6 separate regions of the Homo sapiens genome follow, and all the other regions are linked to region 1. The links are contacts of gene promoters, found by promoter capture Hi-C in blood cells and fetal thymus (Javierre and others, 2016). All regions are on one chromosome and are shown on one strand. The core of a region is centred on a gene start or on the middle of the fragment in contact, and the rest is flanking DNA. Distances in the headings are between cores, read along the strand shown.

The links. Contacts are between HindIII fragments. The CHiCAGO score rates a contact against its expected background, and 5 or more counts as called.
Region 2: a contact is called between a fragment that was not itself captured here and the fragment with the promoter of NHLRC1 in region 1, in 1 of 17 cell types (M2 macrophages). The highest score is 5.4, in M2 macrophages.
Region 3: a contact is called between a fragment that was not itself captured here and the fragment with the promoter of NHLRC1 in region 1, in 14 of 17 cell types (M2 macrophages, M0 macrophages, naive CD8 T cells and 11 more). The highest score is 14.5, in M2 macrophages.
Region 4: a contact is called between a fragment that was not itself captured here and the fragment with the promoter of NHLRC1 in region 1, in 3 of 17 cell types (M2 macrophages, erythroblasts and M1 macrophages). The highest score is 8.9, in M2 macrophages.
Region 5: a fragment that was not itself captured here is called in contact with the fragment with the promoter of NHLRC1 in region 1 in 1 of 17 cell types (erythroblasts); the score reaches 5.1 in erythroblasts.
Region 6: a contact is called between the fragment with the promoter of FAM8A1 here and the fragment with the promoter of NHLRC1 in region 1, in 3 of 17 cell types (megakaryocytes, neutrophils and total B cells). The highest score is 8.9, in megakaryocytes.

What each region holds. Positions count from the first base shown.
Region 1 is chr6:18,121,427-18,126,660 of GRCh38, reverse strand. NHLRC1 (NHL repeat containing E3 ubiquitin protein ligase 1) reads left to right here and starts at 3,984. Exons shown (of 1, transcript NM_198586.3): 1 at 3,984-5,234. The coding sequence starts at 4,055. The HindIII fragment of the contact is 6,107 bases long and covers 1-4,680 here.
Region 2 is chr6:17,132,055-17,137,288 of GRCh38, reverse strand. No RefSeq gene overlaps it. Among named protein-coding and RNA genes, the nearest start is that of STMND1, 33 kb to the right of the region's middle. The HindIII fragment of the contact is 553 bases long and covers 2,833-3,385 here.
Region 3 is chr6:17,148,853-17,154,086 of GRCh38, reverse strand. No RefSeq gene overlaps it. Among named protein-coding and RNA genes, the nearest start is that of STMND1, 49 kb to the right of the region's middle. The HindIII fragment of the contact is 1,642 bases long and covers 2,204-3,845 here.
Region 4 is chr6:17,168,195-17,173,428 of GRCh38, reverse strand. No RefSeq gene overlaps it. Among named protein-coding and RNA genes, the nearest start is that of STMND1, 69 kb to the right of the region's middle. The HindIII fragment of the contact is 2,888 bases long and covers 820-3,707 here.
Region 5 is chr6:17,188,901-17,194,134 of GRCh38, reverse strand. No RefSeq gene overlaps it. Among named protein-coding and RNA genes, the nearest start is that of STMND1, 89 kb to the right of the region's middle. RefSeq lists a silencer at 630-830. The HindIII fragment of the contact is 709 bases long and covers 2,094-2,802 here.
Region 6 is chr6:17,597,800-17,603,033 of GRCh38, reverse strand. It overlaps FAM8A1 (family with sequence similarity 8 member A1), which reads right to left and starts at 2,732. Exons shown (of 5, transcript NM_016255.3): 1 at 1,913-2,732; 2 at 324-444. The coding sequence starts at 2,624. It overlaps LOC102724591 (a long non-coding RNA gene), which reads left to right and starts at 4,058. Exons shown (of 5, transcript XR_007059485.1): 1 at 4,058-4,281. RefSeq lists enhancers at 326-826, 827-1,327 and a silencer at 2,394-2,873. The HindIII fragment of the contact is 5,181 bases long and covers 1,438-5,234 here.

The DNA.
Region 1 (5,234 bases), core at 2,735-5,234:
TTCTTCTCATCTTTTTTGTCTGCTCATACATGTGAATGTTTTCACAAGGTTGTTGTGATCACATTACGATACAGTATTGTATCTCCACTATCTTTCTTTCTATTTCATTCACCCTTCCTGGAGTTGAGGCAGGAGAATAGGGTCTTGAGGCAGGGAACCTAAGGCTGATTCATGCTGACTTCCTAGAACTAAATTGAAAGGAAAACCTCAACTTTCCATGCCTAAGTAACAAAAGGACCAGAGGCTACTCCCTTTGTAACCTCCACCACCCCACCGCCCCTAGCCTTTTCTGCGTGGCAGAAACATCTGCAACCAATCAAACGTTTGCATAGGAGTGTAACTTTTGTAACTTCACTTCGGCCTCTCATTGGTTGCAGCAAGCAAAAGCAACCAATCAGACTGATTGCGGGCCACTACTTTATTTGCATGGGATGAATACCAAGTGGCCAGTGGGAAACCTCTAGGCAGTATTTGGACCCCAGAAGATTCTGTAACCAGGGCCCTTGAGCCACTGCTCAGCCAGGTCCCACCCTGTGGAGCACTTTCATTTTCAATAAATCTCTGCTTTTGTTACTTCATTCTTTCTCTGCTTTGCTGTGCATTTTGTCCAATTCTTTGTTCAAAAAGCCAAGAACCTGGACAACTTGTAGTCAAACCTTCTACTGGTAACAGTGTCACTAAATATTTTTCAAAAGCAAGATTTTTAAATAGCTGTATAATGTTGTAATGTGGCAGTACAATTATTATTTAGTCTTTCTCCTGCTATTAGAGTCAGCATTCATTCAGCAATTTAAGTACTATTGGGTGTGCTAGCAGATAAAGGTTTATTGATTATTGAAGATAATCCTTTTCTCAGGCATCACAGGTTGTAGGGGTAGGGACTGAACATTGAACTTCATATGGTATGGCTGTCTTAGGGGTACAGGCAGGGAGCTGTCAGCTTATAACTGGTCATTTAAACCACGAGGAAGTGAAGATGGCATTGCTCAGGGAAACAGGTAGGAAGCTAAGAGAAAAAGACTGAAGGTGGCACCCTGAGGAACACTCAATTGCATTGAACTTGAGATGCACTCAAATCTCTAGATCCCCATTTCCAAACATACATCTCCACTCATTTTTGTATGGACTTACTCAAAAAATTCAAAAACAGCCATTCTTCCTCTTGCCACCACATCCCTCACCCCTGAGATGCCAAGAACATGGAGCTTAAAAATTAGAGTGGTGGTCAGAGACGCCCCTGGGAGGAGGGCAAGGCTGGAAGCAAAGCCCATTCTGTGTGGCTTGTTCATCTTCCTTTCCCTTACATCATTGTCAGGTAGTCTGAGTTGTAATTGGATCATTAAACTTGTTCTGGGATTCCTTCTAAACTGCATGTGTCTGGCACATTTGCCCCACCTGCACAACCAGGAGCCCACCTGTCTAAGCACTGACTCCCCCTAACTCATGCTCCCCCTGTGCTCTCTTCTCTGCTGGAACCATCCTGAGCTGGGTCCCCACTCTCCTTCCACTATAGTATGGTACTTTTTCATAGGGCAGCCATTGACCACTTTGGAAACTAGACGTTCTGCTCTTCAAGCCCTTTGCCCCCACAACTCTCAGGGCTTGTTCTAGGTGGAAGCAGGAAAAGATGGGCATGCTAGTCCAGGACCCTCTATAGAAGGAATATCGGAGGGAAGCACAGGGTAAATCCATGGAGGCCCAGCCATGGAGGAGGAAATGATAGTCATAGGAAATGCCAAATGTCAGAGTGAGATTCAAGACATATTTGTTATTAATCAATTATGCAATGGTGTGATTGCATAAATAATGTGATTTTAGTTGGTTGTTTATTTGGGATGGAAATGTAGTCAGAAATTATTAAGTTGGTTATTGTGTCCCAGTACGCAATCTTTGAGTCAAATGACATTTGATTAGAAAATGTTCTTTCTTGTCTTACATTAAAGCTCTTTCCAGGGGCCTCAACAGGGGATAAAATATTGTGTTTTCTCAGAAATCTAGCAAATCAGAAGGTGAATGTTCATGATTATGATCTCTAAAGGAAAAGAAATTCTCTAATACAAGGTTTTGTTAAGCACAATGTTCACATAAGACATTTGAGGGAGAACCCCTTAAAAATAAGAGTTTAGGGCCAGGCACGGTGGCTCATGCCTGTAATCCTAGCACTTTGGGAGGCTGACGCGAAAGGTCAGAAGTTTGAGACCAGCCTGGCCAACATGGTGAAACCTCATCTCTACTAAAAATACAAAACTTAGCCAGGCATGGTCACGGGTGCCTGTAATCCCAGCTACTCAGGAGGCTGAGGTGGGAGAACCGCCTGAACCCAGGAGGTGGAGGCTGCAGTGAGCCGAGATCGCGCCACTGCACTCCAGCCTGGTGACAGAGCAAGACTCTGTCTCAAAAAGAAAAAAAAAAAAAAGAAAGAAAAAGAAAAATGAGAGATTATAATACCACAATGGATTCTTCACACAGATTATGCTATCCCTTGTTTGAAGATTTTCCAACATATGGCAAATTCTCTTTGTTTTTGGTCTTAACTGAGATTGGAAAAACTGAACTTAGTGTCATTTGAGGGAATTATTATAATGCAGTGTTTCTCAAACTTGGCTGTACATTATAATCACCTGGGGAGCTTTTATAAATCCCAGCTGTCCAGACCACACCATGGGCCAATTAAACTTTTCGGGTGCGACCCAGGTGTTTACCATGTGCAAAGAAGTTTGAAAATGACTAAAATAGGTAACTCTGAAGTCAAACTGCCTGGCTTCAAATTCCAGGCCAGCCACTTCCTAGCCATGTGACCCTGGGCAAGATATTTGATTTCTATGAATTCTATCAGAAAAAAAGACAATAAAAATAACATATTTTTGTAGGATTGCTATGAGGTTTAAACAAGATAATCTATGTAAATTATTTATTAATTTGCTGCAAAAGTAATCACGGTTTTGCCATTAAAAGTGATGGCAAACACTGCGAATCCTTTTCACCAACCTAACACAATGGGGCAGGCATATGTGAATTCCATAGGCTGGGCACAGTGGCTCACACCAGCACTTTGGGAGGCCAAGGGGTGGGGAGGAATGTGAACAATTTTCACAAGTTCAAGACCAGCCTAGGCAACATAGTGAGACCTCCTCTCTACAAAAAAATTAAAAAATTAGCCTAGTGTGATGGTGCATGCCTGTAGTCCCAGCTACTGAAGTGGGAGGATTGCTTGAGCCTGGGAGATGGAGGCTGCAGTGAGCTGTGATCGTGCCCCTGCACTCCAGCCTGGGTGACAGAGTGAGACTTTGTCTTAAAAAACAAAAAAATGAAGTTCTATGGTAATTATTATTAACTAACAGCTTTCTTATTTCATATTAATTACTCTGCAAGACACTTCCAGCATGGTTGCCCCATCTGACACTCATTCACCTCGTTGATTTTTTTTTGTTGTTGTTGTTGTTCTATAACATTCATTCATGCACAAATTCATTTTACAAGTATGTATTCATCTAACATTGACTTAACTATGAGTATGACAGAAGACACAAAAGAAATGTACACATCTGCCTCACCTCCCTTGGAGTTTATCTTCTCTAGTGTGTTCGTGTTTTCCGGTTCAGATCATAAGCATCATGAGCTAAGGGACCATGTTTTATGCCCGGACAGCCGTAGCACCCGGCGCTGCGGATTGGAGACACTGCTAGGCACCCGGGCTGGAAGATTGGGTTCTAGTTCTTGTTTTGCCGCTTACAGGCTGGGTGACAGGGAGCAATCCTGTTGTCCTCAATAGGTGTGTTTCCTCATCTGAAAGTGTACACAATCCATCCATGACTGCTGTGACGATTACAGGTCTACACAACGCGCATGTGGATTTGTCTTGCAAACGTCCACCATCAGGCCCTCAGGAAACAGTGCCGCGCGTGCCCACCAAGGGGCAGCAGATCGCAGTGCAGAGGCCCGCGGCGCTCGACGTCAGGGCGCACGTCCCACCCCGTGACCATGACTGTGACCGTGACCGAGAGCGTCGCTGGGGCACGGCCAGGCGGCGCGGCGGGAGTGCACAGGACGCGCCATGGCGGCCGAAGCCTCGGAGAGCGGGCCAGCGCTGCATGAGCTCATGCGCGAGGCGGAGATCAGCCTGCTCGAGTGCAAGGTGTGCTTTGAGAAGTTTGGCCACCGGCAGCAGCGGCGCCCGCGCAACCTGTCCTGCGGCCACGTGGTCTGCCTGGCCTGCGTGGCCGCCCTGGCGCACCCGCGCACTCTGGCCCTCGAGTGCCCATTCTGCAGGCGAGCTTGCCGGGGCTGCGACACCAGCGACTGCCTGCCGGTGCTGCACCTCATAGAGCTCCTGGGCTCAGCGCTTCGCCAGTCCCCGGCCGCCCATCGCGCCGCCCCCAGCGCCCCCGGAGCCCTCACCTGCCACCACACCTTCGGCGGCTGGGGGACCCTGGTCAACCCCACCGGACTGGCGCTTTGTCCCAAGACGGGGCGTGTCGTGGTGGTGCACGACGGCAGGAGGCGTGTCAAGATTTTTGACTCAGGGGGAGGATGCGCGCATCAGTTTGGAGAGAAGGGGGACGCTGCCCAAGACATTAGGTACCCTGTGGATGTCACCATCACCAACGACTGCCATGTGGTTGTCACTGACGCCGGCGATCGCTCCATCAAAGTGTTTGATTTTTTTGGCCAGATCAAGCTTGTCATTGGAGGCCAATTCTCCTTACCTTGGGGTGTGGAGACCACCCCTCAGAATGGGATTGTGGTAACTGATGCGGAGGCAGGGTCCCTGCACCTCCTGGACGTCGACTTCGCGGAAGGGGTCCTTCGGAGAACTGAAAGGTTGCAAGCTCATCTGTGCAATCCCCGAGGGGTGGCAGTGTCTTGGCTCACCGGGGCCATTGCGGTCCTGGAGCACCCCCTGGCCCTGGGGACTGGGGTTTGCAGCACCAGGGTGAAAGTGTTTAGCTCAAGTATGCAGCTTGTCGGCCAAGTGGATACCTTTGGGCTGAGCCTCTACTTTCCCTCCAAAATAACTGCCTCCGCTGTGACCTTTGATCACCAGGGAAATGTGATTGTTGCAGATACATCTGGTCCAGCTATCCTTTGCTTAGGAAAACCTGAGGAGTTTCCAGTACCGAAGCCCATGGTCACTCATGGTCTTTCGCATCCTGTGGCTCTTACCTTCACCAAGGAGAATTCTCTTCTTGTGCTGGACACAGCATCTCATTCTATAAAAGTCTATAAAGTTGACT
Region 2 (5,234 bases), core at 1,860-4,359, 990 kb after region 1:
TTTTGTGAATGGTAATTGTAAATGGGATTGTGTTCTTGATGTGGCTCTCAGCATGAACGTTATTGGTGTATAGAAATGCCACTGAAATTTTTTTTTTTTTTTTTTGAGATGCAGTCTCGCTCTGTCACCCAGGCTGGAGTGCAGTGGCACGATCTCGGCTCACTGCAAGCTCTGCCTCCCGGGCTCATGCCATTCTCCTGCCTCAGCCTCTGGAGTAGCTGGGACTACAGGTGCCCACCACAATGCCCAGACAATTTTTTGTATTTTTAGTAGAGACGGGGTTTCACCGTGTTAGCCAGGACAGTCTCGATCTCCTGACCTCGTGATCCACCCACCTTGGCCTCCCAAAGTGCTGGGATTACAGGCATAAGCTACCACGCCCGGCCAAAATGCTACTAATTTTTATACATTGATTTTGCATCCTGAAACCTTACTGAAGTCATTTATTAGTTCCAGTAACTTCTTGGTGGAGTCTTTTTAGGCTTTTCTAGGTGTAGAATCTTAACATCTGTGAAGAGAGATGGTTTGACTTCTTTTCTTTTCTTTTTTTTTTTTCTATTTAGATGCCTTTTATTTCCTTCTCTAGCCTGCTTGCTCTGGCTAGCACTTCCAGTACTATATTGGATAGGAGTGGTGAGAGTGGGCATCCTTGCCTTGTTCCAATTCTCAGGGGGAAATGCTTCCAGTTTTTGCCCATTCAGCATGATGTTCACTGTGGGTTTGTCATAGATGGCTCTTATTAGTTTGAGGTATGTTCCTTTGATGCTTAGTTTCTTGAGGGTTTTTATCATGAAGAGATGTTAGATTTATGAAAAGCTTTCTCCATGCCTGTTGAGATGATCATATGGTTTTTGTTTTTAATCTGTTAATGTGGTGAATAACTGTTATTGATTTGCATATGTTGAAGCAATCTTGCATCCTAGGAATGAAGCCTACTTGATCTTGATGAGTTAACTTTTTGATATGCTGTTGGATTTGGTTTTCTAGTATTTTGTTGAGGATTTTCATGTCTATTTTCATCAGGAATATTGGCCTATAGTTTTCTTTTTTAATTGTTGACTTTGTAGAATGAGTTAGATTTTTGCTGGCTTTGTAGAATGAGTTAGGAAGCAGTCCCTCCTCCTCATTTTTTTTGGAATAGTTTCAGTGGAATTGGTACCAGCTCTTCTTTGTATATCTGGAGAATTCCACTGTGAATCCATCTAGTCTGGGGCTTTATTTGGTTGGTAGGTTTTTAAAATTATTATTATTGATTCAATTTTGGAACTAGATATTGGTCTGTTCAAGGTTTCAATTTCTTCCTGATTCAATTTTGGAAGATCGTGTGTTTCTAGGAATTTATCCATTTCCTCTAAATTTTCTAGTTTTTGGGCACAGCGTTGTTCATAATAGTCTCTGAGGATCTTTTGTATTTCTGTGGGATCAGTTGTAATGTCACCTTTGTTGTTTCTGAGTTTGCTTATTTGGATCTTTTCTTCTTTGTTAATGTAGCTATCCATATATTGATCTTGCTTATTCTTTCTGAAAATTACCTTTTGGTTTCATTGATTCTTTGTATGGATTTTTGGGTCTCAATTTCGTTCAGTTCCATTCTGATTTATTTCTTTTCTTCTGCTAGCTTTGGGGTTAGTTGTTTCTTGTTTCTCTAGTTCTACTAGGTGTGATGTGAGATCATTTTTGAGATATTTCTAACTTTTTGAGGTAGGCATTTAATGCTTTAAATTTACCTCTTAACACTGCTTTTGCTGCAATCCCACACATTTTGGTATGTTGTGTCTCTGTTTTCATTTATTTCAAATAATTTCTGCATTAATTTTGTGTTTACCCAAAAGCAATTCAGGAACAAGTTGTTTAATTTCCATGTAATTGTGTGATTTTGAGAGGTATTCTTGATATCTATTTCTATTTTTATGCCACTGTAGTCCAAGAGTATGGTTGGTATAATTTCAATTTTTTAAAAACGTATTGAGACTTGCTTTATGGTTGATAATGTGGTCAATCGTGGAGTCTGTTCTATGTGCAGATGAGAAGAATGTATATTCTGTGGTTAATGGGTGATGTATTCATTCTGTAGATATCTATTAGGTCCAATTGATTAAGTGTTGAGTGTAAGTCCAGAATTTCTTTGTTAGTGTTTTGCCTCAATAATGTGTCTAATGCTGTCAGTGGGGTGTTGAAATCCCCTGCTATTATTGTGTGGCTGTCTAACTCTTTTCATAGGTCTAGAAGTACTTGCTTTATAAATCTGGGTGCTCCAATATTGGGTGCATATGCATTTAGGATAGTTAAGTCTTCTTATTGAATTAAACCCTATGTCATTATGCAATGTCCTTCTATGTCCTTTTTTACTATTGTTGGTTTAAAGTCTATTTTATCTGATATAAGAATAGTGACCCCTGCTCTTTTTTTTATCTTCTGTTTTTGTGGTAGATCTTTCCCCAACTCTTTACTTTGAGCCTGTGGGTGTCATTACGTGTGAGATGGGTCTTTTGAGACAGCAGATAGATGGGTCTTGTGTCTTGTTATTTTATCCATTTGCTTCTCTGTGCCTTTTAAATGGAAGGTTTAAACCATTTACATTTAAGGTTAATATTGATATGTGAGGTTTTGATTCTATCATGAAGTTGTTAGCTGGTTGCTTTGCAGTTTCTATTGTGTAGTTATAAGGTCTGTGTCAACTTAAGTGCATTTTTTTGGTAGTAGGTATTGTTCTTTTATTTCCATGTTTAGAATTCCAGTACAAATCTCCTGTAAGGCTGGTCTAGTGGTAACAGATTCCCTTAGTGCTTGCTCATCTGGAAAAGATTTTATTTCTCCTATGCATATGAAGCTTAGTTTGGCAGGATATGGAATTCTTATTTGGATTTTCTTTTCTTTCAGAATTGTGAAAATAGGCCCCCAATTTCTCCTGGCTTGTAATATTTCTGCTGAGAAGTCTGCTATTAGCCTCATGGGGTTCCCTTTGTACATGATCTGACATTTTTCTCTAGCTGCCTTTAAGTTTTTTTTTGTTTGTTTGTTTTTTAAATATTGACTTGGACAATCTGGTGACCAAATGCCTTGGTGATCATTTTGTATAGTATCATGCAGGTGTTCTCTGGATTTCTTGTATCTGGATATTTACCTATCTAGCAAGATCAGAGAAAATTTCTTGAATTATTCCCTTACATATGTTTTCCAGGTTTTTTGCTGTTTCCCTTTTTCTCTCAGGAATACCAGTAACTCATAGGTTTTGCCATTTTACATAATCCCATATTTCTCAAATACTTTGTTCATTTTTAAAATTTATTTTTTCTTTATTTTAGTCTGACTGGGTTGATTTGAAAGACCAACCTTTAAAGTCTGAAATTCTTTCTTCTGCTTTGTTCAGTTTATTGATAAAGCTTTCAGTTGTATTTGAAATTCTTTGAGTTTTTCAATTTCAGAAGCTCTGATTGATTTCTTTTAAGATGTTCATCACTTCCTTTATTTTCTGGATTGCTTTAGAAGTTTCTTTGTACCACTTTTCAATCTTGTCCTGTATCTCATTGAGCTTCCTTGCAATCCATGCTTTGAATTCTTTATCTGTATTTCTGAGTTTCCGTTTTATTTAGAAACCATTGCTGGAGAGCTAGTGCAATCCTTTGGTTTGTCACTATATTCAGATTTTTCATGGCACAGAATCTTTGTGCTGGTTCCTTCTCATCTGGAGATACTGGCACTTCTAATTTGTGTTATTATTTTCCTGAAGATAGGGTTTTTTCTTTTTCTTTGTTTTCCTATAATATTGTGTTTTTTTCTTTCCATTTCCTTCCCCCCTTCTCCCTGTACAGTTCCTGTTACTGTAGAGGAACTGTACTGTACCCCAACAGGGTAGGGTCTTTTGGCTTTGCTTCTATATAGCCCTATGCATTTCTTTCAGCAGGTTTTATATTGGGCTGTGCAGTTTGACCTACAAGCCCTTAGATGGCACTTATAGGTAGGAGCCAGCCAATATGGCTGTGTATATACTTGATCTTTGTTTGTTGCAGAAGCTCTCTGTTGCCTTAGGCAATGGGGTGATTTGTGGAATTCACAGTGGTCTGAGCTCCCCTATGCAGCCCTGGAGGGGGCAGGGGCAGGGGCCATGATGGGTGGGGCCAGACCAGGCAGGTTTGCCTGCACATTCCCTAGTGGCAGACACAAGCACAAGCTCTGAGGGATAATCTAGTGGGTGGCCACCAAGCATCCAGAGTTGTGCCTAGGTGTGGAGCTGGGAAACCTCCTCAGTCCCAAGTTTTCTGCACAGGGATGGGAGTTAGCCCAAATTCCTAATGCAGGAGATTAGGTGCCCCAGATGCCTGAAGATCTGCCTGGGAGTAGAGCAGAGAGGGCCCCTCTGCACCAAGATCTCTGCACAGGAAGGGTGGGGTGATTCAGGCTGCTGTTCCAGGTGAGTGGGTGTTCCGAATGCCTGGAGAGCTGTCTGGGCATGGAGTGGACAGGGCACCCCTGAATCAAGATATCTGCATAGAAGGGGTGGGACAACTCAGTCTGCTGAACCAGGCAAGCAGTTACACAGTATCTTTAAACACATTATTTCATCTGATTCAACTCTGTGACAGTGGCTATCCCAAATTAACATGTAAGGTAATTGAGACACAGAGAGCCTGCATGCCTCAGGGTCACATTGTAAGAAGTAGACTGACTCTAAAGGTTTCGGCTTTCCAGTGAGTTTTGAAGAAGCCCCTCAACCCCCTTCTGCCACCACCATCATACCTCACTGGCTGTAGGTGTTTGAAGTCCTATAGGCTATACAAACACATACAACAGAGGTCCCCAACCTTTTTGGCACCAGGGACTGGTTTCGTGGAAGACAATTTTCCCATGAATGTCGGGGAGGGGGTGTGGATAGTTTCAAGATGATTCCAGTGCATTACATTTATTGTGCACTTTATTTCTCTTCTTATTACACTGTTATATATAATGAGATAATTATACAACTCACCATAATGTAGAATCAGTGGGAGCCCTGAGCTTGTTTTCCTGCAACTAGATGGTCCCATCTGAGGTGATGGGAGACAGTGACATCTGAAATGCGTTGCTTATGTCCAGTCTACTCCATAATCTCATTTTGTTTGCTGTCACTGCAGAAAACCCTGCTGCACAAAGATGGGATGCTAGAAATGGAAGCAGGCTTTTCAGTGCTTTTGTGGCGATGTCAGGATATTCCGCCTGGACTTTAATTCAGAACATATGGAGATTTGAAGTTGCCT
Region 3 (5,234 bases), core at 1,775-4,274, 970 kb after region 1:
ACAGTCATTCAGATATGGAAAAATCCAAGATAATTCGTAGGTTACAGTTTTTCTCTTATTAAACGATGAATAGAAGAGTATTTTTAAGTCCTCTCAGAGAAAGCAGAAGCGTTTGGGGGATGTAGCCATCTATCTGAATGTGGCCCTCTCCTCTCCTTTACTCCCACGTCCAATCCATATGGATCTCTTGAGCCAAAAAGCTGCTGAGGTCTATAGAAAGCTGGATGAAAGCAACATCCTAGGTTTAATTGAACCAGCATAGGACTTTCTCTCCCAGGGGTTATATGAGTGCCTGGAGACGAGTTTCAGGGAGCTCAGGACTGACAATGGTGGATATTGGGAAGAAGGTAGTATTCAGAAACAAAAGGAGCCCCTGGGGAAAATCACTACCTGCCCTGACAAATGGGCCTGGTTACTGGGCTTCTAGGAAGGCAAGAAGCAGCTAAATGGGCCAGCTAAGACCTCTCTGCCCAAACATTGAACAGCAACAACAAATCCCACCTAATGACATTCAGCAGTCAAAGGCAGGATGATCAGTTATAACAAACAGAATATATAATCAATAGAATGAAGCTGCTGGAGGAGACAGACAACAATTTAGTGAGGAAAAAAAGATCAAATAAGGAGGGTCACTGGCAGCACAGAACAGAATTTCTGAAGTTAAAAATCATAATTTTCCAATTAAGCAATGTCAAAAATAAGTAGAAGAGAAATGTACTGTCAAGACACAACTTAGTTGCCAGGAAGAGCAAGTCCAAAAAATATCCCAATGACCTGAGGGGAAAAAAAGTATATCAAGAGAGATGATGAAACTTGGAGAATAGGCCTGAAAGTCTAATTCTATAATAAAGCTTCTGAAGGAAAAGAGGCAGTCCTTTAAAAAATAATAAAAGAAAAGTTGAATCGATATTGGTGGCCTGTAGACAGAAACAGTATACTGATTTCCAGGCCACATCGATGAGAAAAGACTCATATCCAGGCAAATCCCAATAGAATTCCTGAATAAAAAAAAATAAAGAGAAAATCATAAAATCTTTAGGCAAAAAGGAAAAATCACTTCTCAAAGAAAAAGATTCTGACTGGCATTGTTACATTCCATCACATGCAAAGACAGAAGCTAGTGGAATTGAATCTGCAGACTTCTGAGAGCTGTAGACTTCTGAGAGATAAGAAATGAAAGCCACAATTCTATACCCAGCCAAGATATCACATCTCATGTGGTAATGAAAGAAATTTGAGAGTATATAAGAATTCAGAGATTATAAACCTAAGTGTTCCCAAATGAGGGATTTTCTTGAGCACATACTCTAACCAAACTACAAGCAAATCCAAGCAGACATTATGATAGTGTAAGAAGATGAGAAGAAATGAGCATGAGCAATGAAACTTGAGATACTTATATTCATCATCTATTCATATCTATCTATCTACCTAAATGACTAAGGGTAGACTGTCAATGAATCTGTAATATAAGTGCAAATATAGACTCTAGAAATAAAACGGCATACTTTATAGGTAATTTAACAATTTGAAAACAAAAATACTAAATTATCTCAGAAAAACTAGGAACTGGAGTGAAGAAGTGGTAACTAAAATCATTCCCAAACTTTGACTTCAGACCATGGGAAGAAGAAGACAAAAATGTATTGAAAATATTCACTGATCTTGTTGAGATGATGTGGGGATAGGGGAAAACAGTTAATTGGCAGCCAACTCTGGAAGGGCTCAAGTTGATTGATTGTTAGATTTCAGAGGGCACCTCAAGGGTCCTGGTGTCCCTCATTGACAGCCCAAGCTTTTCTTCCTCTCCCTACTGTCCTCACCCTTGTCTGAGGGGACAGCGTGTGCTGGCCATGCAGAACCCACAATGCTCCTATATCATACCTGAAATAGCAGGTTTTTATGAGACTGAATGAAATGAAATTACCAACAATTGTGTAATGTAATATTTAACCAAGCCAATAGTCCAAGGCCATCTTCCAACAACGTTACTTTTTTCCTTTGCTGTACATTGTGTTGTGCTAGAGATGTTAGTTTTTCTAGCAGCTGTTTGCAGACCAGCAATTGTTCACCTTGGACTGAGGACGCAAGTCAAAATGAATTTCTCTATATCAGCTGCAACTGGGATTACTTGTTTGTTTCTTTTGTTTGTTTGTTTGTTTGTAAATTTCCAGCATTCAAGCTGCACAGATTTTAGCAAGCTTGGAGGGACAAAGGACTAAACAGACCCTCCTTGGAACATTAAAACAAATGGTTCCAAGTTGTTTGGACTAATTAAGCAGTCGCTGGATGTCACAATATTTCTGTGGAAATGGCAATTCCCTGGCATTTGCCAACTTCCTTGTAATGTTACATACAAGATCCAAAATGGAATTTTTCATTTTATTTAACTTGTGAGATTAAATTTAAGACTAACTTAATAAACCAGCCTATTTATGTGGACAATAGAATTATTTACAATAACTCCTAATACTAATAAATTAAAAATAAATAAACTTCCAACAACAGGGATCAGCTAAATAAATAATAGCAATGTCTTCTAACTTTTTTAGAATTGCAAACCCCTGAAGTGGTTTTAAAAATATCACCAATTTTGAATGGCGACAGGGGACAGGGAGTGCTGGCCATGTAGAACCCACAATGCTCCTATATCATACCTGAAATAGCAGGTTTTATGAGACTGAATGAAATGAAATTACTAACAATTGTGTAATGTAATATTTAACCAAGCCAATAGTCTAAGGCTATCTTCCAAGAACATTACTTTTTCCTTTGCTGTACATTGTGTTGTGCTGGAGATGTTAGTTTTTCTAGCAACTGTTTGCAGACCACCAAACGGTTTTTCTTTTCTTTTTTCAGACAGAGTCTCACTCTGTCTCCCAGGCTGGAGCGCAATGATGCAATCTTGGCTCACTGCAACTCCCGCCTCCTGGGTTCAAGTGATTCTCGTGTCTCAGCCTCCTGAGTAGCTGGGACTATAGGGGCGTGCCACAATGCCCGGCTAATTTTTGTATTATTAGTAGAGATGGGGTTTCGTCATGTTAGCCTAGCTGGGCTCGAACTCCTGACCTCAAGTGATCCACCTGCCTCGGCCTCCCAAAGTGCTGGGATTACGGGTGTGAGCCACAGTGCCCGGCCAAGAACGGATTATTCAATAAAAATATTTTTGGCCAGGTGCAGTGGCTCACGCCTATAATCCCAGCACTTTGGGAGGCTGAGGCAGGTGGATCACGAGGTCAGGAGATCGAGACCATCCTGGCTAACACCGTGAAACCCCATCTCTACTAAAAATACAAAAAATTAGCCAGGCGTGGTGGTGGGTTCCTGTAGTCCCAGCTACTTGGAAGGCTGAGGCAGGAGAATGGCATGAACCCGGGAGGCGGAACTTGCAGTGAGCGGAGATCGCACCACTGCACTCCAGCCTGGGCGGCAGAGCGAGACTCCGTCTCAAAAAAAAAAAAAAGTATATATATATATTTTAAATTTTTATCAATATATTAAAGATTGTGTTATAAAGTTTCCTTAAAATACAATAGCTGCAATTGGGTTTGAGAAGTTATTAGTTAATACAAATAGTTATGAAATAGTAAGCTATATACATGTTGGTCTCTGCTCCCAGTCCTGGGCACACAGCTTCTAAAACCCTTGTAATTTCCTGAGTGATGGGGTGCTAGGAAAATCTTTTGTTCTAATGTTTGGTCTCTGCCCCAGTTTCTGACAGAGTGGTCTTCCATCTGTTGAGATTTCCTGGGTGATAGCAGTGTCTTTTGTCCTAATGAGGTGACTCTTGATGGGCTCCTGGCTGGGGGCTGGTCACCAGATAGACCAAGCCAGGATTAGAAGCTTGGAGCTTTCAGCACCGTCTCTTATTCTCTGGAGAGGGGAGAAGGGCTGGAAATGGAATTAATAATCCGTCATGCCTGTGTGAGGACAGTGCCATAAAAATCCCTCAACTATGAGGTTCAGAGAGCTTCTGGGTTGGCAAACACATCCCTATGCTGTGAGCATGGCCCTCCACCAACTCCACAGGGACAGAAGCTCCTGCCCTTGGGACCTTTCTTTCACACCTTGCCCTATGCATCTCTTCCATCTGGCTATTCATCTGTAGCCTTTGTAATTTCCTTTATAATAAATGGGTAAATGTAAGGAAAGTGTTTCCCTGTATTTTGTGAGCCACTCTAGCAAATTAATTGAACCTGAGAAGGGGGCTGTGGGATCCCTGATTTATAGCCAGAAGGTTGGGAATACTTAACAACCTACTGCTTGTGATTGGCAGCTGAAGTGGGAGGCAGTCTTGTGGGACTGAGCCCTTAGCCTGTGGGATCTGACGCTTTCTCCAGGTAGATTGTGTCCTAATTGAATTGGATTAGAGAACACACAGCTGGTGTCTGCTAGAGACCTGCTTGATTGTTGGTGGAGAGAAAACCTCACCCATTTTGGTGACCAGCGTTGAAGTGTTCTGTGTTGTATTGAGTGCATGAGAGTAGGAAAAGCACTTTGGTTTTTCCTAATAAAAGTTGATTAAGGAGTCTTAAGAAACAATGTATATAAATCTTAAATATTTTAACTTAAAACATTTATATATACTTTCATTTGAAAACACTTTGATGTGACATCAATGTATGATTACAATTCTTGTATAATATAAACCATATCCATAATGTATTACCTATAGTTATAATTTTAGTCACCTTAAATTAGAGGATGAAGTTTGGAAATTTACAGTATGATGTGAGTGTAGAATCATCCTTTGAAGATTTTTTGGCAAATTTGCTATTCCTTTTCTAACTCCATTTTTTTTTTTTGGAGATGGCGTCTGGCTCTGTCGCCCAGGTTGGAGTGCAATGGCGTGAGCTTGGCTCACTGCAACCTCCACCTCCCGGGTTCAAGCGATTCTCCTGCCTCAGCCTCCTGAGTAGCTGGGACTACAGGTGCCCGCCAACACACCCAGCTAATTTTTATATTTTTAATAGAGACGGGGTTTCACCATGTTGGCCAGGATGGTCTCGATCTCTTGACCTCGTGATCTGCCCGCCTCGGCCTCCCTAACTCCCTGGGATTACATGTGTGAGCCACTGCGCCCGGCCCTAACTCCACTGTAAAAGAAGCTATTCAAAATTAAATATAACAGCTGGTAAAAATAGCATTAATAGGCCTTAGAATAGTTGTTAGTGGCTCTTGGTAAGTATTCCACTTGACTCTTGTGGACAGGGTATACTCAGGCGTGCTGGAAA
Region 4 (5,234 bases), core at 1,014-3,513, 950 kb after region 1:
TGCCTGCTTGCTTCCCCTGCAGAGGCACCTGATTCTAAGGAGCTTGTGAAGGCTTCATAGGAATTGGGCCATAGAATGTTTTGAATGTGACAGCCTGGTGTTTGAAGCTTCTGTCTAGGAAAAAAATTACTGGTGGGATTCACTCATGTAAATGGCATTCTTGAATTGTCTAAAAGTTATTGTGAATCACTGACATGACTTGTATGTGATTGGCTCATATACGACCTCTCTACTGAATACTATCTTGAAGATTCTATCTCGATATTCAAAGGCTCAGGTCTCACGGGCACATTAGTGCATCCCCTTTATGGGTAGCTCAGCAAGCCCAGGGGAAGGGTATGAGATTCTTATTAGCATCTGTCCTCAGCCAGGCAGTGTGCTCCTATGCAGATGTGCTGGGTGCTTTCCTTTTATGTAAATGTCTGATCCACAACAGGGCTATCCTCTGACTGCTTTCATCTCCCTCAGATCTTGCAGAGCCCTTTTAAGGTAGGGATCATTTGGCAGCTCTATCAAAGGATTTGGCCTCCTTATATCAAGAACGAAAAATCCTGACATAGCCCTGAAATTCCTTGAGACAAATAGTTCATATATTTTCAGTTCAATGGTGCATTAATCATGAGTTGCTTTTTTTTTCTTTGAATGTGATAAAAGATCAACTCAAATTAGCTTAAGCATATGAAGGGATTTAATAGGATACTGGATTTTCTTATATAATCAAAGGAGGGGTTGAACAAACAACCAGATACCAAGAAGGGTAAGGATGCGGCTCTATCAAGGAAAGACTTTAATGAGAGATGAACGTCATAAGGAAAAGCTTTGTTTTGCTTTTCTCCACCTGAGGACCCCATTGTCACTACAGACTGGCCCAGTTTTTACATCTTGCTGTTCCCACAGTCGAAACAGGACTGACTCACTCTCCCTCTGGTCCCAAGGTAAAATAAAATGCCAGGAAGGGGTGTGATTGGTTCAACCCAGTCAAGGAATTACACTTCTTGATCCAAACACCCTCACATATCAGGAGAAGTTGTTTCTTTTGAACATTTATCAAATTATGTTGAGATCTTTGAGTCTAAGTTATAACCTCTTTTGTCTAATGCAAATCTTGATGATTTTGCTATGTACATGTCTTTTTTTTTCTTTTTTCTTTCTTTTTCTTTTCTTTTTATTTTTTTTTGAGATGGAGTCTCACTCTGTCACCCAGGCTGGAGTGGAGTGGCACGATCTGGGCTCACTACAACCTCTGCCTCCCGTGTTCAAGTTATTTTCCCATCTCAGCCTCCTGAGTAGCTGGGACTACAGGTGTGCACCACCATGCCTGGCTAATTTTTGTATTTTTTGGTATAGACAGGATTTCACCATATTGGTGAAACTCCTGACCTCAAGTGATCCGCCTACCTCAGCTTCTCAAAATGCTGAGATTACAGGAGTGAATCACTGTGCACAGCCTATGTCTTTTTTGAGAAGATCGATGCTTTGAATGTGATGTTGGCTTCCTTTGATAGAACCATCTCAGCAAAAAAAGTCTTCTATTCCAAGTTTGTTAAAATGGGTCACATATTCTGCTTAAAATTCTGTGATAAGTGCTATTTGTAGAGCGTAGTTGGTGTTAGAGATAATCTATAGATTTAGTAAAAACTATAATATTGTGTCTAGCATGAAGAACTATTCTATTGTAAATATACCTTTTATTTGTTGAGGAGCTACAGCTAAGGTTTTAGGGAGGAAAGTTGATAAAAGTAGCTCTGGGCTATATCCTCATATTGTGAAAAATAAGAGTGAGCTGATAGAGTTTGGATGTTGTCCCCTCTAAATCTCATGTTGAATTGTTGTCCCCAGTATTGGAGGAGGAGCCTGGTGGGAGGTGTTTAGGTCATGGGGGAGGTTCCCTCATGGTTTGGTGCTGCTGTGCGTATGATAGTGAGTGAGTTCATGCCTGCTCCCTCTTCACCTTCCACCATGAGTAAAAGCTCCCTGAGGCCTCTCCAGAAGCTGAGCAGAGGCCATTGCCATGTTTGTATGGCCCAGAAAACCACGAACCAATTAAATCTCTTTCCTTTTCTTTCTTTCTTTCTTTTTTTTTTTTTTTTTGAGACAGAGTCTCGCTCTGTTGTCTAGGCTGGAGTGTGGTGGTGTGATCTTGGCTCACCGCAACCTCTGCCTCCTGGGTTCAAGTGATTCTCCTGCCTCAGCCTCCCAAGTAGCTGGGATTACAGGCACCCACCATCATGCTGGGTAATTTTTGTATTTTTAGTAGAGATGGGGTTTCACCGTGTTCACCAGGCTGGTCTCGAACTCCTGATCTCAGGTGATCCACCCACCTTGGCCTCCCAAAGTGTTGAGATTACAGGCGTGAGCCACCGCGCCCGGCCTAAACCTCTTTTCTTTATAAATTACCCAGTCTCGAGTGTTTCTTTATAGCAGTTCAAGAACGGTGTAACACATGAGCATCGAAGCCTGTGTCCTCCTTCAAGAACACAAATGTTGGTTGCAACAGAAAATCGGATCAAATTCTACCATCAAGTTTAGCTTTGTTGCACTTAATCATTATTTAATAGATCAAAATTATTTCCTTATCCTTCTCATTCTCCATTCCTGGTTCCCTAAGGGAGCTAACACTTCATTCAAGAATATTTATTTGCCTCCTTTGAAGGACAAAGACAAAAGCAGGTAAATTAAGCAGGAAACCTAGATCTCTTGCTGGGCTACAGGGCAGTGTGTGAGGCTTAGAGGCAGACAGGCCTGGATTCAAATGAGACTTGGCTACTTAATGTGAGATGCTGAATACAACACTCAACAATGTAAAATTTTAATTTTTTCATTTGCAAAATTGGGATGATAATATCACATGGAATTGTCTGAGTATTAAAGGAGATCAGCCATGTAAAGTGTTTGGCAGGGCATTACTTGCTGAGGGTCCTATTGAGGTCCAACTATAGTCTGACCTCATTCCCTTTTCTGGGTCATCCAAGTTTCTCTTCTTGGTTCCCTTCACTCCCTCAGCACAGGGAGAGACACCCCACACCCAGGTTAGCTACTAGAAGTAAGGCTAACGCCACTTAACCTGCAGCTTCCCTTCTCTCTGTTGTTCTTAGGGGAATAGGAAGTCCTTTTAGCTTGGCTGACCTCATGCAGGGAGAGCTATGAGACAGGGAGAGTCTACCTGTCTAATGTGCCCAGATTATCCTTCAAGGAGAGGTGTTGGTCTTGAGCATTATATTCTCCTTTAAGAGCTAGGACTTGGTAGGTGTCCATTTCTCCTTTCTCTCACCTTCCATATTTAATTGTGTGTTCATTCCAAGTACCTTATTTTCTTTGGCGAATGTTTCTTAGGAAGAGGAAAGAGTGTTCATGTCAGAGCACCAGCACAGATTGGGGGCACTACTCTTTGGAATGAGGGGCTGGCTAATCCCATCCATGGCTGGCTCAGCCCCTAGAGGGTGGCAGGAAAGAGAATCAGCTGGAATCATGTAAACACTCAGGCGCCAATCGCCTCATCCAAGAAACTGCTATGAATGTCAAGTGCATCATATTTGCTGAGGCAGGATCAGAGACCAGCCAAACTCTAGGCCATGCCAGCGGAAGGATGAAATAATACTGTTGTTTCCCCTGCTCATTAACATCTGGTTTTTCTGAGGTGACATTTGTCTTAGTGATCGAGGGAAATAAATATGTCTTTGGCCTTCTCTGGCGCTTCATATCAAGCTTGGTTTTACAACAGAAGAGCCCAGAGTTATTCTAATAGAGTATCTATATCAACATAGATGCCAGAAACAAAAATTCATGAGTCAGGGCCTGCGGTTATGTGAGCATGAACACTGGGTCCTATTTGGCATCTGGGCCTCCAGCATGGTCAAGAATCCTGCCCTTTCCAGGATAGCTGAAGGAATGGCCGTGACCAGCTGCCTCTTGGAAATTCTGATCTAGCTTCCTGAGAATTTGCACAGCCGCTAGGGCAGCAATTTTACCCTGGGACACGCTTCTGAGCTCAACTGTCTTTTTTTTGAATACAGTATATGATTCTAGCTGAGGACTCAACCACCAGGCCCAGGGCCAGCGATGATCCTATTTCCGTTAGGAAGAGTCAGGAACACTTTGCCTTTAATCCTGTCTCAGATAACATTCAAATGCTTTAACCCATAAAAATAAATTCAATTCTTTGAGGTCTAATGTGTGTCTGTGTGTTTATATATAGACGATTGGAGCTATATTTCATTATTGGCCTTAGTAGAAAAAGCAAGGGCTAAATGTCTGTAAGATGAAGCCTATAAAGCCGTTTTACTCATTTATTTATTTTCACTTTTTTTTTTTTTTTTTTTAGAGACAGGGTCAGTCTTGCTCTGTGACCCAGGCTGGAGTGCAGTAGCGTGATCATAGCTCACTGCAGCCTCAAACTCCTGGACTCAAGCCATTTCCCACTTTAACTTCTCTGTAGCTAGGACTACAGGGGTGCACCACCATGCCTGGCTAATTTTTATTTTTAATTTTAGTAGAGACAGGGCCCCCTTGTGTTGCCCAGGCTGGTCTCAAACTCCCAGACTCAAGCAATCCTCCCGCCTCCACCTCCCAAAGCGCTGGGATTTACAGGCATGAGCCACGGCACCCAGCTTCATTTTAAAACCTATAATTATCTTGATAATTTGGGGGGAAATGCATTAAGATTCAGTAAAATAATGAGATAGATTTTTAAAATTCTAAAGACAGTATTTGGATTTATAATTATAAATACCATTCAAGCAGGCCTAACATTCTCAATTAGCAAAACGTAAGAAAACAATTTCTGATGCTTTTGATCCAGATCTTGAATGAAGAGACTTGTCTTCCACAGAATGGGGCTTGGGTTTGTCAGAAGAGATGTTGTAGGGACATTGACTATGGCAAAGCCCATAATTTACGAATTTGTCCAAAGCACCACGTGGTGAATAGGTAAATACTGCTCCAGTACCCCCAGGGAGAAATAATGCAATGAGTTAAATTTCTTAAGAGAAGTCAAGCGAAAACCCTTTTTATCTCTAGTTTTTAAATGGTTTTTCTAATCTGCATGCATATATATATATATATATATATATATATATATATATATATATTTTGTGCCTTAGTAAATATAGCATAGTGAACATAAGCAACCATTTCTTAGGCAAGCCAGAATCTGAAAGTGTTTTAAGGTCATCCTTTAAAAAAAATCAGCGCCCGTATGTGGAAAATCAACCTTGTAGGTTAGTAGTGGCTGAAAG
Region 5 (5,234 bases), core at 1,199-3,698, 930 kb after region 1:
TGGGGGTGAGATGGGGCTGAAAGTCCCAACCTTTTAATCCTGCCTTGATCTTTCTGGTGACCAACCTCATTCTAAAGCTAGCTAGCAGCTGCCAGCCAGTCACCTCCTTAGCATACAAAAGACTTTTACTATTTGGGAGATTACAAGAGTTTTAGGACCTGTGTGCCAAGAACTAGGGGCAGAGACCAAATACATATTTCTTATATCATAATATCATAGCGTTGTTCTTTTAAGTTCTTGGTGACACCCTCTGGACCCTTGGGTCTAACCTCGGACATTTCTCCTTTTTGATAGAAAATGGCCCATGTTTGCAGCTGAGTGACATTCTCAGCCTTTTTCTGCCTGTAGATGATTGGGGGCTCAGAAACAGCCTTTCTTTTGAGCTATTCTTTATTGCTTTGAGTTCAAGCAGGCACAATTTCCTTAAAAATATGTTTGGTTTCTTATGACTCTAGATGGAATTTATTCCATGTTCCAAAAGCCATGAGGCCCCAAGAGGCCAAAACAGACCTCTGTCTACACTGGGCACATCAAGCTATTGTGGGTCACTACCCTTATGATTCATAGAAGTCCATTTGTCTAGCTAATGGGATCTACTAAGTACTGCCTTAACTCTTTGTGGGATCTTAATAAAGGAATTTACTGCCACACATGGATTTCCTCTTTATCGTAAGCATGTTTTACTCAGAGAATTTTTTACTGGCTGGAGAGACTGAGGATGAGAAACAATTTTATTTCACAATCCAGTAAGTCCTGGGCACTCTAGATTTCCTCTAAATTCTACTTGCGGACTGAAAAGTTCTTTCTAGTTCCTCTCTCTTATCATGTATACCATGTGTCTTATCATATGCAGCTAAAGGAGGCCAAATAATACTTTCAGCATTCTGCTGGACATTTTAGCTACAGCTACAACTGTATCTAAGTGAGGTCCATTTTCCCCTCTTCCAAGTTACTGCAGGCAAGAGTGTTGCCAATTTGTTATCATCTGAATGTTTGTGTTCCCCTCAAATGTATATGTTGAAATCCCGGTCCCCAAAATGATGGTATTAGGAGGTAGGGCTTTTGGAGGTGATTAGGTCAAGAGGGTTCTTCCCTCAGGAAAGGGATTAGTGCCCTTAAAAAGAGACTACAGACCCTCTTACCTCTTCACCATGTGAGGACTGAGTGAGAAGATAGCTGTCTATGAACCACAAAGTGGGCTCTCACCAGACACTGAATCTGTCAGCTTTTATCCTGGACTCCCCAGCCTCCAGAACTGTGGGAAGTAAATTTCTGTTGTTGATAAGCCACCTAGTTTACTATATTTTGTTACAGCAGCCTGAATGGGATAAGACACAATTGTTTCACTATACAAAACAATGAGTACCCACTTAACAGTTTCCAATAAGGAGTTCCTCCCTGCTTTTCCAGCCTCCACTCATAGTTTGTTTGCAGCCCGTCCAGGCTTCATTAACAATTTTCCAGCCAGGTTTTCAGCCTTCGCCCACTGTCCAGTTCCAAAGCCAATATCATACATTTAAGATTTTTGTTGTTTGTTTGCCTACCTTTAGGATTTTGTTACTACAACATTGCAGTTCTAGTTGGCAATTTCTTTTTAGGTTATATGTTGCCATATAACTAGTCACCCCAAACCTTAGTGACTTAAAACAACAATGATTTATTATTTTTTAAAATGATTCTGTAGGTTGGCTGAAAGATTCCTCTGCTAGTTTCACCTGAGCTCACTTGTTTGGTTATTCAAGGGAGTTGGCTGAAAGCTAGGCTCATCTCTGATCCCTGGGACAGAGGGGGCTCTCTTTCCATCTGGGAGGAATACCAGGAGCTGGGATTCATTGGGAGCCATCTACCCTCACCTTTAAAGGACCAGCATTACTTATAGCAGCCTTTTCAGTAGTAACAGGAGAAGCCAGTGGGAAGTAAAATGATATTGTCAGTGCATTAAAAAAATACAAAAAACAGCCAACCTAGGATTGTAGACCGGATGAAAATATCTATCAAGAATGAGGACAACATAAATGCATTTTTAGACGAGTAAAGCTGAGAAAGTTTGCCACAAGCAGATGCTCACTAAAGGAAATTGTAAAGAATAAGCTTCAGGCAGATGGAAAGTAATTCCAGATGGAAAATCTGAGATGCAAGATGGAACAAAAAGCATGTGAAACAATAAAGAAATATATTAAGGGGTTACAAATATGATAGAGTTAATATATATTCACCACAATATGCAAGTTGGAAGCAGAGTTAATAGAGTTAATAGTGTTCTAAGTTTCTTTGTTTTTGTTACTGTCCAGAGGAGGATGCCTGTTGATTAACATCAGGCTTTATTAAGTAGGTATGCCAGGATTTTTTAAAAATGTAGAATGGGTTGAAAAAATACAAAGCAAAAAATAATATGGTTTATATAAGTCAAAATATGTTACCAATTACATTAAATGTAAATGAACTAAAAGTTCAAATTAAAAGATAATACATTTAAGCAGTATAACTTAATTACCTAATCTAAACATACAGTAAACATATATTAACTGAAATTTAAGGGGAAAAAAAGAGAGAAATCCACAGCCACAGCAGAAGGTTTTGGCATACGCCCCTGAGTGATAAATTTGGCTCATAAGAATTAGATAAGCTATAGAATCTTTTAATAGCATGATTAATAAACTTGACCTAATAAACATAGCTAGAAAACTGCACCCACTAACCCATTTTTCCCTAGCATACACAGAACATTTATAGCAAAGGAAAAAAAACAAGGTCATACAGTGAGTCCTAATAAACTGTGAAGAACTGAAATTTTACAAAGCTTGGCTCAATTGCAATGCAAGTAAGCTAAAAATAAATAATAAAAATAAGTAGAAAAGCTCATAGTTTTAGAAATTAAAAAATATACTTCAACATAAAACACAGGTCAAAGAAGGAACTGTATTAGAAATTAGATAATATTTTGAACTGAAAACTAGTACGTATTTAATTGCTTATAGAAGGTAGCTAACACATTTCATAATAAAAAATTTTAAATCTTAAAAATATATTAGACAAGAAGAGTGGCCGAAAATGAATGAGCTAAGCATCTATCACAAATCAGAATACAATCAGCAAAATACCCTTGCCCCCAGAAGTTAGAGACAGGAAATAAAGTAAAGAAATAAATAAAGTAGACAACAAATGAAGACATAAGAACAGAAAAATAAGGTATAAATAACCAATGACAGGGATGAAAATGAGTTTCCACTTCTGATGCTGTAGTTATTTTACAAGTAAAAAGATGATAATATGAGCAACTTTTTTCTAAAATATCTAAAACTCTAGACCTTAAGCTAATGCCCTCGTTTCTTACTTTGCTGAGAAACTTGAAATAATCAGAACTTCCACAGTCCTCTACTACAGAACCTACTCCCGTGCAAGTATTCTCATCTACACCCATGTATTTCCTGCCTGTTAAATATAATAGATTTTTCCATGCTCCTATCTAAACCCAGTCCCAGCCAGGGGCAGTGGCTCATGCTTGTAATCCCAACATTTTGGGAGGATGAGGCACGAGGATCACTGGAGCCCAGGAGTTCAAGAACAGCCTGGGCAATATAGTGAGACCCCCATCTCCCCCAAAATTTAAAAATTAGCTAGATGTAGTGGCATGCAACTGTAGTCCCAGCTACTTGGGAGGCTGAGGTGGGAGGATTGCTTGAACCTGGAAGGTCCAGCCTGCAGTGAGCCATGTTTGTGCCACTGCATTCCAGTCGGGGTGACACAGCGAGACCCTGTCTCAAAAATAAATAAACAGCGCCCCCCCAAAACATAATCCTTCTATTTTTGCACTGCATCCTATCCTTCTCTTCTAGTTAAGGACATTTCTTTACTAGTTCTCCCCTCTTTGCTACATAGTCAGTATTTTACTCTTTTACCAAGTTATTTCCATCAACATTCAAACTTCTTCCTCCAGTTACTCATTTCCATATTTCTTCAAGTGTTTATCTATATTCTCTGACTATGTCCTCTCCTTCCATTCTGTCTCCATGCACTCATGCCTTTTCTCCTACTACTCTATCAAAATAGTTCTTTTTATGGGCACGAATAACCTTGCTAAATCTAAGGTCAACCTCTATCACCATCTTACCTAACCTATCAACAGCATTTGACAGAATAAGGGTAAGTTTTTTCTGTTTTCTAGAAATACACTTTTCTTTGGCTTCCAAGATAGGGTAGTTGCCAGATTCCCCACCTATCTCATTGTCTGCTTATTCTTTGTCCCTTTTGTTGATTTTTCCTCTTCTCCCCAAACTCTTAATGTTGGAGTTCAACAAGGTGAACACTTGGTTTGCCTCTTCTTATTTCTTTTTTTTTTTTTTTTGAGGTGGAGTCTTGTTCTGTTGCCCAGGCTGGAGTGCAGTGGTGCGATCTTGGCTCACTGCAAGCTCCCCCTCCCGGATTCACGCCATTCTCCTGCCTCAGCCTCACAAGTAGCTGGGACTACAGGCACCCACCACCATGCCTGGACAATTTTTTGTATTTTTAGTAGAGACGGGGTTTCACCGTGTTAGCCAGGATGTTCTTGATCTCCTGACCTCATGATCCACCTACCTCGGCCTCCTAAAGTGCTGGGATTAAAGGTGTGAGCCACTGCACCTGGCCTCCTCTTCTTATTTCTATGTACACATACTTCCTTGGCAATATCATCATTACCATTAATTTAAAAATACCATCTATATGCCAAGAACTCCCAAATTTCTACCTCTAGTCTGGACTTTTCTCCCAATTTCCAGATTCAACTGCCTGGTTGATAGCTCTACCTGGCTTCATGACAGAAACCTCAAACTCAACACATACCAAAAGGAACTTTGGATTTCATCTGCCAAACCATTCTTCTAGCCACACATGTAAAACAAAAATAGAGTTGGTTTTAATTCCTCTTTTATTTCCTCCTCACACCACACATCCAATTCATCAGGAAATTCTGTTGTCTTAGTCTTCAAATATATCCAGATTTTAACCATTACTCACCACTTCCACTGTTTACCTTACCTGAACCACTATTATCTTGCACCTGGATTATTGTAATAGCTTCGTAATTGGTCCTGCTCTTTTCATGTCTGCCTTCCTATAATCTATTCTCAACAAGGCTTTAAGAGCGGTCCCTTTAAGGTGAAAATCATGTCATGCCATACTTCTGCTCAAAACCCTGCAGTACCCCATTTCACAATTCCTTCAGTGGTCTACAAGTCCCCATATGATCTAGCCCT
Region 6 (5,234 bases), core at 1,483-3,982, 520 kb after region 1:
AACAGGATAGTGAGAGGTAAATTAGTTCCTGGCCTAAAAGAATAGGTGAATAAAATCAAAGCAGGTTTGGAGGCTCTTTTTACCTATTTTTGATAGGTGAGATTCCCACACATCTTATAGAATTCAGTAAGCTATTTTTTTTCCTTTCTAGTTATTTCTTAAAATCAACAAGAAAACAATAAATCTAACAAAGCTCTTATAAAGAAATCATGACACTGACAAGCCCATTATCCATATAGTCACGTGTAGACAAACAGAATGTAATAAAACAAGATCATTAAACAGTAGAAATTAAAACCCTTCTGCAAATGTCCTCAACTTACTTTATCCCACTGAGGTGCATAATGCTTAAGACAATGGTTGCTTTTATAAAGAAGAGAATAAAGAAATCCACCATCTCTGCCATAAATCTGTGGGCCAAGGATGGAATAACATATTCTCTGCCTGTAAATTAAAAAAAAAAAAAAGTTAGGAAAAACGAATCATTTCACATAAGCCTTGGAACACAAGCCATGTAATGAATTGCTAAAGAAAGTCAAGGTACAACTTAATAAAAAATATTTATAACCGTGCAGCAACTATTGATATTGATTCCACCAAGAATCCATGTTACTAAAATAGAGTAACAGAGAATCCACTATTTACTGAGCTTAAAGTTTGCTTTCATCACCTTAACGTTTAAAAATTGATTTCACACGGCCAGGTGCAGTGACTCACGTCTGTAATCCCAGCACTTTAGGAGGCCGAGGCGGGCAGATTGCTTGAGGCCAGGAGTTCGAGACCAGTCTGGCCCTGGCCAACATGGCGAAACCCCGTCTCAACAAAAAATACAAAAATTAGCCGGGCGTGGTGGCGCATGCCTTTAGTCCCAGCTACTAGGGAAGCTGAGGTGGCAGGACGGCTTGAACCTGGGAGGCGGAGGCTGCAGGGAGCCAAGATCGCCACTGCACTATCCAGGCTGGGCGATAGAAGCAGACCTTGTCCCCACCCTCCCCACTTTCCCCCTAGAAAACTGATTTCACAGATAAATTTGATTAGGGTACCCACTACATTTCACTAGGAATTCTAATGAGGAGAATCCAGGTGATCACATCTAAGTCACACAAAATTAAACATTTTTTAGTACAAATCAAGGTTAAATATTGGCAATTAGTATAAAGTAAATCCCTGTAATCCCCCCCCACCCGTTTTTTAGTTTGTTTTGCTTTCTTTAAAATAAACCCAGTGAGTATCAATCTGTCATCCTAAATTCTGACTGGGATCAGAGGCATCAACTAGTTCTTGTCCCATCTATCTGTGGCTAACTAAAATAAACTAAAAGTCTAATAGTTTAAATAGTAAACTAAGAAGTGTAACTAATTCAAAATATTCTAGTTCACACACAGAAGCAAAAACAATTACACAATATACAAGATATTGATCAAATGAAGTGAAGCTTTGACCCAATCAAAACTTCCTAACTCCACTTGTATCCATGTCGATCTCCTTTTATATCCGTTCAGTTCCACTGTCCTAAGTAGCCAATGTCTGAATAATTTTCAGCATTACCAGTCGAGCCCCTCCAAAAGTGGGTTTGCCATTTGCGAATTTAGCTTTGGCCCTCACTGCAGAGCGTGAAAACCAAAGGAAGAGGATGGTTTGAAGAGCAATTTCTTTTCACGAATAAACAACTAGTCCCATGAGTAAGGGAGTCAATTTGGAGTGCCAGGTCTAAAGGAAGAAGAAACTGTATTGCCTCCTTGTACATTTTGGGAATTTAGGGCCTGGACAAACGATAGCTAGTGAACTGAACGGGCAGGATAGTCAATCAGAGTAGAAGCAGCAGTTACAGGTCTAAAAAGCGTGCCAGCTCTACCCCACAGGCCCCCGAAAACCCTTCTACTCCGCCCAGCCTCCACCTCGCGCTTCTCACCTGCCTGTCGCCCGGTCTCGCTCGGGCTTCGCGAAGGGGCTGCGGATCCTACCCTCGTCACTGGAGTGGCCCGGACCGACGCCTGCACGTGAGGAGCCCGGGGTCCCAGGCCCGCGACTGGAGCAGGGGTGCTGATGCCGGCAGCTGTCCGCGGGTCAGGCCCCGCGGCCCCGGGGCTCAGGAAGTAGAAGGGGTTGTAATAGCCCAGCTGCGGGGGCGGCGGCGCCGCGGCCTGGGGGACTGCAGCGCCGCCCGAAGGGAAGCTCTGCGGGGAGGGCTGGGGGCTGCAGTAGGCTGGGAAGGCGGCCAGGCCGCTGTGCCAGGTGAGGTAGCCGCAGTAGGACTGCCACAGCCACTCGTGCACTTGCCGGGAGTACTCGCGGGCGCTCAGCCGAGCTGGTCTCTCTCGTGGCGCCGCGGCTTCGGGCGCCTCGCAGCCCGCCTGCTCCTGCAGCTCTGCACCGGAGCCGGAGGCCGCCTCCCCGCGCTTCCTGAGCTCGCGCGGCGGCTCCAATTTGTCGGCTGCGGCGGCAGCCGCGAGGCCCGGGGCTGTGGGCCGGCCCGGGGCCTGGGGTTCGGCCTGGGGGTCGTCGCGGGGGCATGGGACGGCGGTGGTAGGAGGGCCTCTCAGGGAAGGGACGGGCTCGTGGTCCCCTCCGCCATCGTCCTGCCCGGGAGGGTGGCCTCGGGCTTCCTCGGGCCCCTCGGCCATCGTCGCCTCAGCAGCACCCTCTGGGATACCTGTCACTGCTCCGTTTCCCTCCCCCAATGGCCCCTCCCCAACAGCCCCGTCACCACCGCAGCAACCGCAGGCGTCAACAATCCCCCGCCGGAAGCGGAAGCCCCGCCCCTCAGGAGCAACGCCCGCCGCCAGGCGGAGCTGGGAAGGGAGGGCGGGGAGGTGCGTCTGCAGTCCCGGGTTCGGGCCCTAGTAGTCGGTGGCTGGTCGGTGACTGGGACCAGACCGTCGCCTCCTCCCTTTTACAGCTTTAAGTCTGTGACCCGAGGCCTCTCTGTATATTCCCGTGGGGTTGGGCCTAGTTGTCCTGGGAGAAACTAGATGGATGAGGAGTATTTCCGAGACAGGTCCCAGGGCCAGCGCAGCCTTTTCTGTTGCAGAACCGCGACTGTTGTTTTGGGATCCAGGCCGGAGGGTTTGTTGCTTGTGTTCATTCCAGTTAACCATTAGTACTCGAGAAGGTGGTACAGAACGCATCTATCCCCTTAGAAGAAAAGAAATTAAAAGCCAAACTAAACTGGGATATATATTAATATAGGAAACTACCACTGAGACATAGGAAAGTGTATTAAAATATAACTAGTGAGGTGCTATGTATAATTCAGAGGAAGGGGAAATTATGCATGGGCCAGACTACTAACAAAAGGCTCCAAAGCCTGGGATACGCTGAGGGCCTTTCCATAACAGAAAATGAAAAGGAACCTAAATTTGAGACTAGATTTGAGGAAAGGCACAGTTGCGCTGGAGTAGAAAGCGTCTGTCTACCGCAGTGGAAAGTAAGTTTTCGTAAATGCAGACTAGCTCCAGGGTGAGGACAGAATCTAGCTTTTAAATCAGTATAATCTCTCTTCTTTTACATTTGAAAATCTCTGCAGCGATATGTTATTGTATCCCCAGCACCATACAAAGGACATACAAGGGCCAAATACTGTGGGAATATTTATTAATGATATTAATGATGATGCTGTCCGGGCCAAAGGAAAACTTCCGCTTCACCTTCTGAAGTTTCGCTGAAAGTCACTGACAGGAGGCAGTTAATAGGAGAAAAGACATAGACATTGATTTGACCATCGTTTTATGTGACACGGGAGCCTTCAGAATGAAGACCCAAAGATAACAAGGGAAATCGTGTATTTGTATGCTTAGGTTCAACAAAGCATGGACAGCCGTATAAAAAAATGACTGGACAAGGCCGGGCGCGGTGGCTCACGCCTGTAATCTCAGCACTTTGGGAGGCTGAGGCGGGCGGATCACAAGGTCAGGAGATCGAGACCATCCTGGCTAACACAGTGAAACCCCGTCTCTACTAAAAATACTAAAAATTAGCCAGGCGTGGTGGCGGGCGCCTGTAGTCCCAGCTACTCAGGAGGCTGAGGCAGGAGAATGGCGTGAACCCGGGAGGCGGAGCTTGCAGTGAGCCGAGATTGCGTCACCGCACTCCAGCCTGGGCGACAGAGCGAGACTCCGTCTCAAAAAAAATGACTGGACAAAAAACACTCTGATGCAAACAGGCAAGAAACCCAGCAAGGCCTATCTGGATTCTCCTTGGCCTGTCTGCAGCATTCATTCCTTCTGGGTATGGAACAGGACCCTCTGGAATGGGGGCTGTGGCCTACAACAGTTAAACAAGGTAGGTCAGATAATTTTTCTTTTCCTTCTTTTTTTTTTTTTGACAGAGTTTTGCTCTTGTCGCCCAGGCTGGAGTGCGATGGTGCGATCTCGGCTCACTGCAACCTCCCCCTCCCAGGTTCAAGTGATTCTCCTGTCTTAGCCTCCCGAAGTAGCTGGGATTACAAGCGCCCGCCATCACGCCCAGCTAATTTTTTTTGTATTTTTAGTTGAGACGGGGTTTCACCATGTTGGCCAGGCTGGTCTTGAACTCCTGACCTCAGGTGATCCACCCGCCTCGGCCTCCCAAAGTGCTGGGATTACAGGCGTGAGCCACTGCGCTCTGCCAGATAATTTCTCTATGTCCAATATTTGCACAGAAAGGGGTGCAGGGAGGTTAGAGTAATATTTTTAGGTTTGTGGCTGGCTTTGGGAAAGGGTGGGGTTTTGGTTTCTATGCCCTGCTTTGGGAAAGACGGATTCCAGTTTCTATGACTAGCCTTGTGGGTGGGGGTGGGGGGAAGAATGGGATTGAGACAGGAGGGTTGGAGAAGGTGGGAAAAATCTTTTGCTTCTGAGGTCTTCATTTTGGGGTATGGTTTTCTGAGTTCCAACAATGCCCAGGGTCATTCTTTTTTTTTTTCTTTCTTTGTTTTTTTAAAGACAGGGTCTCACTCTGTCACCTAGGCTGGAGTGCAGCAGTGTAGGCACTCCTCACTGTAGCTTTGACCTCCCAGGTTCAAACTATCCTCCCACCTCAGCCCGAGTGACTGGGACTACAGGCACGTGCCACTGCCCCCGGCTCATTTTTTTCATTTTTTGTAGAGATGGGGGTCTCACTGTGTTGCCCAGGCTGGTCCCAAACTCCTGAGCTCAAGCAGTCCACCCGCCTTGTCCTCCCAAAGTACTGAGATTACAGGTGTGAGCCACCACGCCCAGCCCCAGAGTCATTGTTGGCTTTATTCTGGGAGATAT